2 separate regions of the Homo sapiens genome follow, and region 2 is linked to region 1. The links are contacts of gene promoters, found by promoter capture Hi-C in human tissues and cell types (Jung and others, 2019). All regions are on one chromosome and are shown on one strand. The core of a region is centred on a gene start or on the middle of the fragment in contact, and the rest is flanking DNA. Distances in the headings are between cores, read along the strand shown.

What was found. Contacts are between HindIII fragments. The study calls those that stand out against the background at their distance.
Region 2: a fragment that was not itself captured here is called in contact with the fragment with the promoter of CMTR2 in region 1 in 2 of the 25 tissues and cell types used here (mesenchymal stem cells and thymus).

What each region holds. Positions count from the first base shown.
Region 1 is chr16:71,284,665-71,290,937 of GRCh38, forward strand. CMTR2 (cap methyltransferase 2) reads right to left here and starts at 4,738. Exons shown (of 3, transcript NM_018348.6): 1 at 4,472-4,738; 2 at 4,214-4,273; 3 at 1-1,275. The coding sequence starts at 1,256. LOC102723786 (a long non-coding RNA gene) reads left to right here and starts at 4,136. Exons shown (of 4, transcript XR_933707.3): 1 at 4,136-4,291. RefSeq lists silencers at 4,491-4,860, 4,941-5,010. The HindIII fragment of the contact is 7,661 bases long and covers 687-6,273 here.
Region 2 is chr16:70,868,754-70,875,829 of GRCh38, forward strand. HYDIN (HYDIN axonemal central pair apparatus protein) reads right to left here. Exons shown (of 86, transcript NM_001270974.2): 63 at 6,064-6,166; 64 at 5,552-5,839; 65 at 3,284-3,426; 66 at 1-35. Among named protein-coding and RNA genes, the nearest start is that of VAC14, 71 kb to the left of the region's middle. The HindIII fragment of the contact is 3,204 bases long and covers 3,757-6,960 here.

The DNA.
Region 1 (6,273 bases), core at 3,488-5,987:
AGCCAATTATTTCTGGAAAGATGTTTCAGTTGAAATTTTTGCATAAAATATTGTATAGCACAATCCCTTAAATTATTCAGCTTTTCTTGTTCCGCCTTTCCCATGCACTCAAATAGACGAATGTTTTCAGAAATAGTCTCTAGCTGATATTTATGAAAGAACACACAACATTCTTCATGTCTCTTAAGAAAAGAATCAGGAATCACATGATGGGGAAAAAGGGCTTTCCTTTTCATTTCAGTCCCAAAATTCAAGGTCATCTTAGATAACAGAGGATGGATGGCCTCTCTCCCCTTATAGTGGAGGCAAACCACATAGACTTCGGAGTTTCCTGCCTTGCTAGTAGCAGGTTTGAAAACATGGACTTGGTCAAAACAACAGTTTAGCAGGTACATCAAGTTTATGGAACAATGTTCAAACATAGTAAACATCTTTAGAACAAAAGAGCCACCGTTTCCAAGAGTGGTCAGAGCAGTGACAACTTCACAGTAATGCAAAGAAGAAACTAAAGCTTCTTGTTCACCTGGGTTTCCTTGGCAATCAAAACTCCCATCTGCAGTGACCAAGTGAACAGTAGCCATGCTGCTTATGAAATTCTGAAGTCCAGTCAAGAATTTCAGGGTCATGATATCACCAGTGTTATCTGGACCAAAGTACCACCAGTGCAAGGTATTTGCAATAAGCCGGTCATCCATAATCATCATGAGGTCGTCATTTGCTTCATGGTATGGATTCAGAGTATTCGCTACCCAACTCCAATGACAAGGAAACCGATGGGATTTTAAGTAGTGGTTGAGACTAGCTATAAAAGCTCCTGGAGCTTCACAAAGGTGTAGAGAATTCAGTTTTCCATTCTGAAAAGCTTCCTGTGGAATAAGTGGAAAGCTGCACAAAATCTCATGGAACTTACACCATGCTTGAGTACAAAGTTCAGCATTCACAGATTTTCTAACATGAGAAATGATTTTCCCCGCTTTATTAGTGAAAGCAGTGTGCTCATGCCACTCATCCAGTTTCTTATCACTCAGTAGGTTTTTTACTTCATTTAGGGAGTTCTTCAAATCAAGAAATGCATTAAGTTCAGTGTGGTCACAGGTGAAAATCTCACTGGGATCTGGTAACTGCCACTCATTATTAAGTGGCTTGCCATAAGAAAAGTTCTTGGCAAAGAGTTCAAAAATGTCAGCAAGAATATCTGGGCTGAATGACGCGGGACTTGCTAGCTGCTGAACTGGTGTCTTTCTGCACTTACTCATTTTCAAATCAAATTAAAATCTAGGAAGAGAAAACACATAATTAAATGAATCAAATTTATTAGTGAGCGAAATCTCATGAGCAGCAAATACGATCACACTCATGACAAACTCCATAAAATGGGAAGGCTAAAGTCAGCATACTCTGTTATTTAACCAAGTAATCTGGAATAATGAAAAAGGCTTTGATATCCAAGACCTGGGTTCAAATTCCAGCTCTGCTAATTATGGCTTAATAAGCACCCTTGGGCAAATTCCATCTCTTGGATTTGGTTTCTTCTCATTAAAAAAAAAAGCCTATCATTTTTTAAGAAGAAGATAAAACATACTAGCATATAAAAAACATATAACAAAGCATAATCATCAGTGAATGACAGCTCTGATTATCATAGTAACCCATCTAACTCTTCCCCAAAGTTCTTCCCTACCAATGACTGTGACAACACCTACATGACCTCAAACAAATCCATCCTTAGAGATTCATCCCTGGACATGACCTTTGTTCAAGCTCTAACATGTGACTTTTCGTTTTTTTTTTTTTTAGTTCCCGTCATACTTTACCTCCTTCAGGGAGAGGATCATGTACCTGAACCCAGTACTGATCCTGCCACAAGCCACTTACCTCACTAGTAGGATTGTTGAATACATCCTCTGTCCAGATTTCATTCTCTAAGACAGGCACTTTGGTGGTACCAATCACCTATACAGGTCATCAACTAACGTTCATCATCATACTGCTTGTAAACTGTGCTGTACTTGAGTGGTTAGCCTTTTTCTGCTTGATGCTGAAAGTGACCAACTGTTTACCCGGTATGTCTCAAACTATAGATTCCTGGCTTTCATATGGTTCAGACAGCTCCACACTTCCACCATAACATATCATTATTTCTTCTAGCCACTAAAACTTAACACTTGGATAGCAGAATTTTATACTGAAGAAATATACATATTGAATATACAAATTACAAATAGTCACTCTACATACTCTGGCAGTCAACACTGCCAAAGAAACCAGAAACAAAGAAACCTCTTCCTTCTGAAGAGGAAAAAGGATATGAGAAGTATGGCTTAATGGCATAGTTTTGGAAAAGTTACAAATTCCAGCAGGGAGAGCAATGAATATTACATGGTACCTGTTAGTGCAATGTTAATCAATAGATGCTTTAGTTCACAAATTCTGCACTTATTTAGCATACACAATGCATTCTACAAATGATTTTCAAAAAAATCTGAATTTGTTAAATATGAAAAAATTGGCAATCAAATCATCACTCCAGAAAAGCAGATGTTCAAGGACAAAATGAGAAACAAAGGGAACTACTGCTGTAATACATACAATAATATTCAGATGATGTTTCTTTTAGCATTTACTTTGTACTGTTCTTTTAGCACACTTTTTTCATTCTTTCTTATTTTGTTTAAATTATTTGCAAGTCTACTCTACCAGTTTGTAATTTCCTTGAAGTAACAGGTGTCTTCTTAGTCATTTGTTTGCCACGGTATATTTATATTAAAAAAAAGTTTTTTTTTGAGACAGGGTCTCACTCTGCTACCCAGGCTGGAGTGCAGTGGCACAGGTCATAGCTCCCTGCAGCCTTGACCTCTTCCCAGGCTCAAAGGATCCTCCCACCTCAGCCTCCAAAGGAGTTGGGACTACAGACGTGCACCACCACACCCAGTTAGTTAAAAAAAAAATTGTGGAGATGGGGTCTTGCTCTGTTGCCCAGGCTGGTCTCAAAATCCTGGGCTCAAGCAATCCCTCCAACTCGGCCTTCCAAGGTGCTGGGATTACAGGTGTCAGCCACTATGCCTGTTTTTTGTTTGTTTCTTTTTTACTGGTAGAGCTATATTTAGACAAATTTCTAAAGGAAGACAAAACTGAGGTGTTTCCACATTCACTAAAATCTTAAAATAAGGGCATATAAAAGTTTTTTTCAACAAGCTCCTCTGTCTTAATTCGCATTGTGCTTGCTGGAAACTACAGCCATGTTTAGATCTCATCTATACTCTATTTCGGAAAAAGTCTAATTTTAATCATTAACTTCACATACTAATTAACGGCTGTAGTTAAGCTGTGAAACCTTACCTAAGCTAATAGGAAATTACCTTCACATGAGGACAACTTAAGTGATTCAGACACTCCACCGTTCTGACTATACTTTTGCTGTGTTGCCACCTAATTTTTATTACTACTCCCTTACTCACTACTCCAGCCAAACAGGCCTTTCTGCTGTTCACTGAAGACACCAAGCACATTCCAAGACAAAAGTCTTTCTGCATTGGTGGTCCCTCTGCCTGGAATGCTCTTTCCCCAGCTGTCAGCACAGCTAACTCCTTCACCTCCTTCCAATATTTGCTCAAATGTCATTTTCTCAGTGAAGCCTACCTAAGATTGCATCTTGCATTCCCCATGCCTCTTACCTCGCTGTATTTTTTTCCTATGGTACTCATGTACTTCCAACCTATAACTTCCTTCTTTTTGTTTACTGTTTATTATTTGTCTTCCCCAAACTAGAATGTAAGCTCCACAGGACAGAGATCTTTGTTTTGTTTACACATAGACCATTCCAAGAAGTTGGACATTGCCTGGTACACAGTAAGCACTCAGTATTACTGAATAAATGAGTGGATATCATACTTAGCACAAAAGGGATCTCTCTCTTCAGGTTCTGAATATGAGTCATTAATAGTGCACCTCAACTTCACTCCAGCACTTAAATGCATGACTTAAAAAAAAAAAAAAAAGCATGTGGCTTACAGCGTGTGTGGAAAAATTTTCCAGTATATGATCCTCTGAGCCTTTCATTAAACAGTCCTTTGAGCTTTGTGACATCATAATTCTGCTAAGTGGGTCGCTATTACCATTCTCATATTGCAAACTCAAGTAGGCAGTTATGTAGCCCCCGCCCAAATTAGTGAACCCAAAACAAAACCCACAAGATCTCATCAACAGTTTTTACCTCACAGCTGACACTTATAAAGGAGTTCCAAGTGCTTCCGCCAACTCCTCCTACCAGCAACTGTGAAAACAACGGCCAGTGAGTATCCAGGGCTGACTTTGGGCCGGGCACCCCATATCTCATTTCATCTAGTGAAGTAAGTCCCAAACCCCACTCCAGAGGCCCGGTCCCTGACCTGGAGGAAACTCAGTCCCAGCCCCTGGCTCACCCGCTGGGAAGTCGAAGGAGGGCCCGGAATCGTACCCAGGCCTGGATTACCTTCGCCCACGCCCACTGGGGCCCCAGTGTCTGGAGAGGCTGCACTTTACTCTCTCGAGGAAGCCATTCTGCACTTCCGCTCTCGGGGCTGCTTCCCGGGATGGTCCCTCCCTTTGGGTCCGCGGCGCCTCCAGCCACAAGGCAGGGAGATGGTGCGCCGGACTGGGGGGAAGGCTGTCCGGACCCGCCCTCGCGGCACCGGGAAGCCAGTCCCACCTCCGGGCCCCGCAGCCGCGAATGCCGGCAGACAGGGACCAGGAGGCACTCAAGTCCCACTGCGCACGCGCCCTGTAGGCCGGGCCGGAGTCACGTGCGCCAACGTTACGCACGCCGGCGACTCTCGCCTCGCCTAGGCCTCAGCTCCCTAGGTTTTGCTTCGCGGAGTACAGAAGCTGGGAGGCGCCAGCCTCCCGCCCCCGGCCACTATGGCAACGGAAGCGGCGCGCGCAGGCGGAGCATTCTTTGGCTCCGTCCCGAAGAGGGGTGAAAGGGAGAGGGACAGGGAGGCGAAGGGGAGGGGGAGGGGGAGGGAGGGAAGGGACGGGGCAAACCTGTCTGTCAGGACGTGCTGGTTCCGCTCACTGGCTGCTGGCCCCAAGGGCTTTCAGACTCTTCTGGACAGTTGTTACTTCCTGTACAGACTGGGTTGAAACTGCAGCTCAAAAGACGATAGGTTAAAAGCCAAACTAGGGAACTGCAAGATAAGATTGTTTATATATACATGACATAATATATATTAATTATGTTGCTTAATAAGCCAATAAGAAAAAGGCCAACAACCCCAGAAGGAAAATGAGCAAATATTAGAACAGGCCTCCCAAAAAACAAAAAAGTCAAACAAATAGCCACTAAGGATATACAAAACTGTTTAAACTATTATTAGACAAGAATGGAAATGAAAACAGCAAGTTTTCTTTTTACTCGGTTTAGCAAAGATGTAAAACCTTGGTAATGACCACTGTTGGTGTGACTATGGGGAAACAGGTTTACATCTGTGGATGGAAGAAAAACGTTATTAGAAACCTTACGGAAGGCAAACTTATTTATTTGTTTGTTTACTGAAACAAGGTCTTACCCTCACCCAGGCTGGTGTGCAGTGGCTCGATCTCGGCTCACTGCAGCCTCAACTTCCCCGGGCTCACGCGATCCTCCTAGAGAGATGGCATCTCCCTATCTTAGGCTGGTCTGGAACTCCTGGACTCAAGCGATCCGTTGGTCTCGGCCACCCAAAGTGCTGGGATTACAGGCATGAGCCAAGCCGCCTAGCCCAGAAGGCAAACGTTGAAAAGAGACATGCACTTTGGCTGGGCGCAGTGGCTCACGCCTGTAATCCCAGCATTTTGAGAGGCCGAGGCGAGCGGATCACGAGGTCAAGAGTCCGAGACCAGCCTGACCAACATAGTGAAACCCCGTCTCTACTAATAATGCAAAAAATTAGCCAGGCGTGGTGGCGGGCGCCTGTAATCCTAGCTACTTGGGAGGCTGAGGCAGGAGAATCGCTTGAACCCGGGAGGCGGAGGTTGGAGCGAGCCGAGATCTCACCACTGCACACCAGCCCGGGCGACAGTGCGAGACTCCGTCTCGGGAAAAAAAGAGGACATGCATTTTAACCCAGCAATTCCTCCTCCTCGCAGTTTATCCTTAGGAGATAATTAAACAGCTGGCACTCACTTTGGACAAAATGTTCATTTCAGCATCTCAATAACATAGCCAAATGGAAATACTCTAAATGTCTACTTTAAGAGAATTAATTAAATTATTACAGTACATCTATATAATGCACATATATGCATTATATGCAG
Region 2 (7,076 bases), core at 4,109-6,608, 420 kb before region 1:
ATGTCCTTGGCACACCCAGGGTGGAGGTGGCCCATCTAGGAAAGAGCCTGGTATTAGTATTTTTGAGAATCCGATCTTGAGGACTCTTGATACCTGCTGGTGATATTCTAGAGAAGGGAAGGAGCCAAAGGTCTTGGCAAAAAATGCATGTTAAGCCTGTGTATGTAGACAGAATTAAATATGTACATGAGGATCTTAGGTAGAAACATAATAATAATAACAAGAACAACTAATATTTATCAAATGTACTTGCTTCAGGCACTATTCTAAACCTTTACACAATTCTACGAATCCCTACAACAACCCTATGAGGGGTACAGCTATTATTCTTATTTTACAGACAATGAAACTTGTAACTTGGTTGAGGTCATTAATTTTTGAGGAGTTGGATTCAGACCCAGGCAATCTGGCTCCAAATGCCATACTCTTAATCAATATGATCTATACAAATTATGGACAGAGGAATACAGTACACTAGCAGTTCTCCAAAGGTGTTCTGGTGACCTTGGGATCCCCAAGACCTTTTCAGGGGATAAATGAGGTCAAGACTATTTTCATAGTAATATGAAGATGTTATTTGACTTTTTCACTCTCATTTTCTCATAAGTGTACAATGGAGTTTTCTAGAGGTTATGTGATATATGGTGATATGGTCTGGCTGTGTCTCCACCCAAATCTCATCTTGAATTGTAGATCCTATAATCCCCACATGTTGTGGGAGGGACCTGGTGGGAGATAATTGAATCATGGGGGCAGTTTTCCCCACACTGTTCTTGTGGTAGTGAATAAGTCTCACAAAATCTGATGGTTTTATAAGGGGTTTCCCCTTTTGCTTGACTCTCATTTTTCTCTCTTGTCTGCTACCATGTAAAATGTGCCTTTTGCCTTCTGCCATGATTGTGAGGCATCCCCAGCTATGTGGAACTGTGAGTCCATTAGCCTCTTTATAAATTACCCAGTCTCGGGTATGTCTTTATCAGCAACGTGAAAATGAACAAATATAGTAAATTGGTACTGGTATAGTGAGTGGGCACTGCTGTAAAGATACCTGAAAATGTGGAAGTGACTTTGGAACTGGGTAACAGGCAGAGGTTGGAACTGTTTGGAGGGCTCAGGAGAAGACAGGAAAATGTGGGAAAGTTTGGAACTTCTTAGAGACTTGTTGAATGGCTTTGACCAAAATGCTGATGATATGGACAATGAAATCCAGGCTGAGATGATTCCTGGAGATGAGAAACTTGTTGGGAACTGGAGCAAAGGTGACTCTTGCTATGTTTTAGCAAAGAGACTGGTGGCATTTGGCCTTGCCCTAGAGATTTGTGGAACTTTGAACTTGAGGGAGATGATTTAGGTTATCTGGCATAAAAAATTTCTAAGCAGCAAGACGTTCAAGAGGTTACTTGGGTGCTCTTAAAAGCATTCAGTTTTAAAAGGGAAACAGAGCATAAAAGTTCAGAAAACTTTCAGCCTGATGATAGAAAAGAAAAACCCATTTTCTGAGGAGAAATTCAAGAGGGCTTCAGAAGTTTGCAAAAGTAGTGAGGAGCCAAATGTTAATGGCCAAAACAATGGGGAAAATGTCTCTAGGGCATGTCAGAGACCTTTGTGGCAGCCCCTCCCATCACAGACCCAGAGGCCTGGGAGGAAAAAATGGTTTTGTGGGTGGCCCAGGGACCCCCCTGCTGTGTGCAGCCTAAGGATGTAGAGCTCTGCATCCCAGCCACTCTGGTCATGGCTAAAAGGGGCCAAGGTGTGGCTCAGGACATGGCTGCAGAGGGTGCAAGCCCCAAGACTTGGCAGCTTCCATGTGGTGTTGAGCCTGTGGGTGCACAGAAGTCAAGAATTGAGGTTGGGAACCTCCACTGTGCCCAGCCTCTCTGCCTCCTTTGATTAAGGCTTTGGTAATAAAAATAATGCACAAAAGCAGATTACCCTATTATATTATACTGTGTTTGTTTCTTCACAGGCAAAATGCAGATAATAGTAGTATCTATGGCTGGGCACAGTGGCTCATGCCTATAATCCCAGCATTTTGGGAGGCCGAGGCAGGTGGATTGCTTGAGCTCAGGAGTTTGAGACCAGACTGGACAACACGGTGAAACCTGTCTCTGCCAAAAATACAAAAAAATTAGCCAGGTGTGGTGGTGTGCATCTGTTGTCCCAGCTACTTGGGGGGCTGAGGTGGGAGAATCACTTGATCTTGGGAAGTGGAGGTTGCAATGAGCCAAGATTGTAACACTGCACTCCAGCCTGGGTGACCGAGTGAGACTATCTCAACAAACAAACAAAAACAAAAAAAAGTAGTATCTGCCTTATAGCATTGTTCAGAGGATTAACCATGGTCTTAGAACTATTTTTGGCATATAGTAAGCACTCAATTTACAAATAAAGTGGTATACCAGCTCTATTCAGGGTTGGATTTGGACCATGACGAAACGGAATGGTCAGGGTCCTAATGAACTTTACATCACTCCAAAAAGCAAAATTTATCCCTAATAGCGCTCAAAGATTTAAAGATGACAAAGTCCCCAACGCCTTTGCTCCATCCCCCTCGAGTACTGTGCTTGAGCAGACTCACTGGCTGTGTGTCAACAGAGCAGGAGGCAGTGAAGACACTGGGGTGTGCCAGTGCTCTGGGAACTCAGAAATGAACTATCTACAAAAAGCAACCACTGGCCAGAGGCAACGATCTTCTAGAACGTTATCCTAGGCCTTGTTCAATGTCAAGCTTTAGTCAGCAATTCAAAAAAAAAATGTGTGTTGTGGAGATGCTAAAAGAAGAGGTTAGAAAATTCCAGGTAAAACAAAGTTAACAAGGTTTTAACATGCCAAAGAGAACCAGGAATATTTAAGGAAGGATGGAGCTTGGAACATTTTCTAAATCTCACTTGTCCACAGAACCCATCACCCCCATTCTAGCTTTTGGTGAAGCATTTTGAAGGACTGATACTCTAAAGGACACACACCTAGGAGGACACAGCTCTACAATCTGGGATAGGAAGACTAGGACCTGTATTCATCTATACAGGCCTCCACAGGGCCCGTTGACAGCAGCCTAGCAACAGTTTTGGTCAACTTCATTCTCCGTCTTCCCCTCTTAACCAGGAGAGACATGAACAGTGTTCTTTGCTACTAGGTATGAGTGAGGGATGATTCCTGGGCTGTCTCTCAGCTTGAGATGCATTAATTCCATTCCATGCATCCACGGGAAAGGGCTGACAATCAGTCTGGGGTTGGCTTAGGACTAAGGGATTCCAAAAAATGATGAATGACTTTTATTTACCTGTGGGGAGAAAGCAATTGTAGCTGAAACAGGCCATTCAAACCGTATCAAGTTCACTTGGCTGTGATTTGTGACTGTGAAGCTCGCATTATAGCTGTGTCCAATGTGGCAGTCCCCAAATTGGATGTGGTCCACCAGAGCAGCTAGGGATTAGAAGCAGAAGGCTGTGAGTCCTCCCTGGCCTCCCCTGAGGGCCTGCTGCCTTAAGGAGGCATAGTGCTTCACTCACATGCAGTCCTTCCATCCTTGGATGGCTATATTTGAGAAACCTAGAATCTCTGAGTAACAAGATTTCTATCCTCAAGGAATCTATCTATCCACCCATCCATCCATCTATCCATCCATCCATCCATCCATCCATCCATCCATCCATCCATCATCCACCCACCCATCATCTACCCATCCATCATCTATCCATCCATCCCTCTCATCCATCCATTATCCACCCATCCATCATCCACCTATCCATCACTCACCTATCCATCCATCCATCCATCATCCATTCATCCATCCACCATCCACCCTCCCCCATCCTGCCATCATCATCCATCCACCCACCCATCCAGCCATCATCCACCCACCCACCCATCATCCATCCACCCTCGCATCCATCCATCATCCACCCATCCACCATCCACCTATCCACCCATCCATCATCTCCCTACCCACCCATCCATCCATCCATCCATCCATTATCCACCCTCCCATCCATCCATCATCCACCTGCTCACCCACTCATCCATCCATCATCCACCCATCCATCATCCATCCATCCATGCAGCCATCCATCCATATATCCATCCATCATCCACCCACCCATCCATCCATCCATCATCCACCCATCCATCCATTAATTCATCTATCATCTACCTACCCACTCACCCATCATCCACCTACCCACTCACCTATCTACCCATCATCATCCACCCATCCATCCATCATCTACTCATCCATGCATGCATGCATGTATCCATCCACCCATTCATCTATCATCTACCCATCCATCCCTCTATCCCTTCATCCATCCATCCATCATCCATTCACCCACCTTAGCCCTCACCTCCATTTGTACAAGAGAAAACATAGGTCCCCAACTCCATTTGTTTGGTGAGAAAATATTATAAAGGATTGGGATTGCCAGATAAAATATAGGAGTCCTGGTTAAATTTGAATTACAGATAAGAAATGAATAATTTTTAGGATAAGTATGTCCCATGCCATGTTTGGGATATACATATACTAAAAATTATTCATAGTTTAACCAAAATTCCAATTTATTGAGGAGTCTTGTATTCTGATTTGCTAACTCTGGCAATCCTATTATGGGCATGAAATCTGAGTTCTGAACTTAGATTCACTGCTGGCTCCTGCTTGAGCCTTGGTAAGAGAGATGTCACCCTGTAGCCTCAAACAGGGCTGAAACACCAGGTATATGAGGAGTGTTGATTTCAACCCATGTTGTGTAGACCACCTAACGGTACATTCCAGGACTTTAATTAAGCTTCTAGGTAAACTATGGGACTCTGTTTATAACTCACTTTTTAGCAACCAACCACATAATTAGGGCGCTTAACCAATGCCTTCTGATGATAACAATTTGATGATAAATTTTTCCAATCCCCAAAAATGTCAACTAAATGAAGCTTTAGTGCTTGATAGATTGCAGCACAACATGTCTTAAGCTTTAGTATAAAAACACGTCACCTGGGGCCTTGTTAAAATGTGGATTCTGATTCAGTAGGGCAGGGGGGTCTGAAACCCCCATTTCTAACAAGCTCCCAGGTGATGCTGATGCCATAGGATCTCAAACTGCTCATTGAGTAGTGGGGCTGTGCAGAGTGATGTTCTAGAAGTGCCCAAACCTATACTCTCTCTAATAAACAGACAATGCCAACACAAGCCAGCTAATAAATGCAGACAGGAAAAACTGCAAGGCATTTATTTGCTTATTAGTTGAACCAGAATTTGAATATCAAACTATAAGCTCCTTAAGAGTAGAGACTTCCTTGTTAATTTTGAAACTCCAGGGATCAGCATGCCTGGAACATGTACTTGGTGATCAATACATATTCATCGAGTGAACACATGAATAAATGGAAGGATGGATGCCATGACTGAGCCAGGCATGCCAGAGCATAGAGTAATGAAGAGGAGAGTCAGTCCTAAATTCTCAGGGAGGTAACCAACCTGTTATTTAAATTTACTCTCATTTAAAACAAATGACCCAGTAGCCAACACTTGCCAACACTTCACTGCTGTTTCTCCCACCTGCCACCAAGTCTTCCATATCATTGTCCTCGATGATCTCTGTGAACTCAGAGATACTTATGTCTTCCTGGCTGGTGGGGGCCACCAGTCCATGGATGTTGTCCAAGGTGATGTCATCCTCATAGCCCTCTCCCACCATGTGGATGGAGGTCTCCTCATATTGGTTGTTGATCACTGACAAGTGGATGATACCTCTCATCCTCCCAACCTTCTGGGAGTGGAAAACGACATCAAATTCAGCTGTATCTCCAGGAGAAACAACCAAGGAGGCTGTGTGAGCTTTCTTTGCTGCAAAGAGAAGAGAGAAGATATGATTTAGAACTAGTTTCAAGAAATGTGTATCTATAAAGACCCCTGTTGAAGGGAAAGTAACCCTAGAATGGGAACGAGCCTTAGCTAGAGGCCAGTGGTGACGAGACTGGGCATTCCCCTCTGGCTGGGCCTTGAGTGGTCCCCTAATGAAGCAGCTACTGAGATCCATTGCCCTCTAGAAGCACCCTCCCCACACTTACCTTTTACATGTGGTTTATTTTCCTCTGTGATGTAGATATACGCGGTGGTGGGCCTCCCTTTCAGGGAGAAGACTCCTAGCTCATCCTGCAGGTCAACATGCAGCTGGCAGAAGGAAAGCAGGGATGAGTGCTAGGCTTACAGGCTGCTCATGGGCTTTGAGTCTGGGGTGAGATACTGTGCTGTGTTTGGGGCAGGACCCCAAAAAGGTATTATGCCTAGTATTCACTTTTTTGAATTTCTTAAGAGAGATAAATAATAAATATTAGACCTGGAGAGGACAGAAGAACATTCAGTCAGATCAGCCCTTGTTATCTGAGTGAGGAACTGGAGGTCCAAGGAGTATGCAGAACTTTCCAGATCACGTAGGTAGTGTCAAAATGTGGTTGCCAACACCTCTGTCATTAACAGAGGCAGTTATAAAATATACGCTAGGCCAATAAAATGCAAATGAATACTTGTAATTCTATAAGGGCCTGCATTGATGTCAATTCCTAAAAACCAGTATCTCCTAGGTGCTATGCATTAGTTTAGTTGCCTGATAGTGTCATGTTGAGCATCCTACCACGATAAGAGAAAAAACAAGGTGGGCATTTGACCTACTTGGAGAAAGTGGTGGTTTCTGGCCCATTATAAGGAAGATAAGACTAAAGCCATACATCTGATTTCGGATATGAGACATCAGCAGGCATTGTTAGAAGACAGTAATGCTGGCACCATCATGAAAAAGATTGAATAATACAAAATATGAGGCATGGAGAAGGCAGAAATAGTGATATCACACGGGAAGCTTCTGAGATAAAAAATTATGTATTTAGAAACAACTTTAATAAGAAACTATATGGAAGAATTATATGTAAGAATATTGACATAAAAGATCTAAATAAATGGGTGGAAATCCTAAATGTTCCTGGTGGAGAGTCTAAATACTCCGCAAGCAGAAATCCTACCAGATTCAGAGGCTTCCCGATGGGATTTTTAAAGGAACGTTATAAAATAATTATAAAGCTTATTT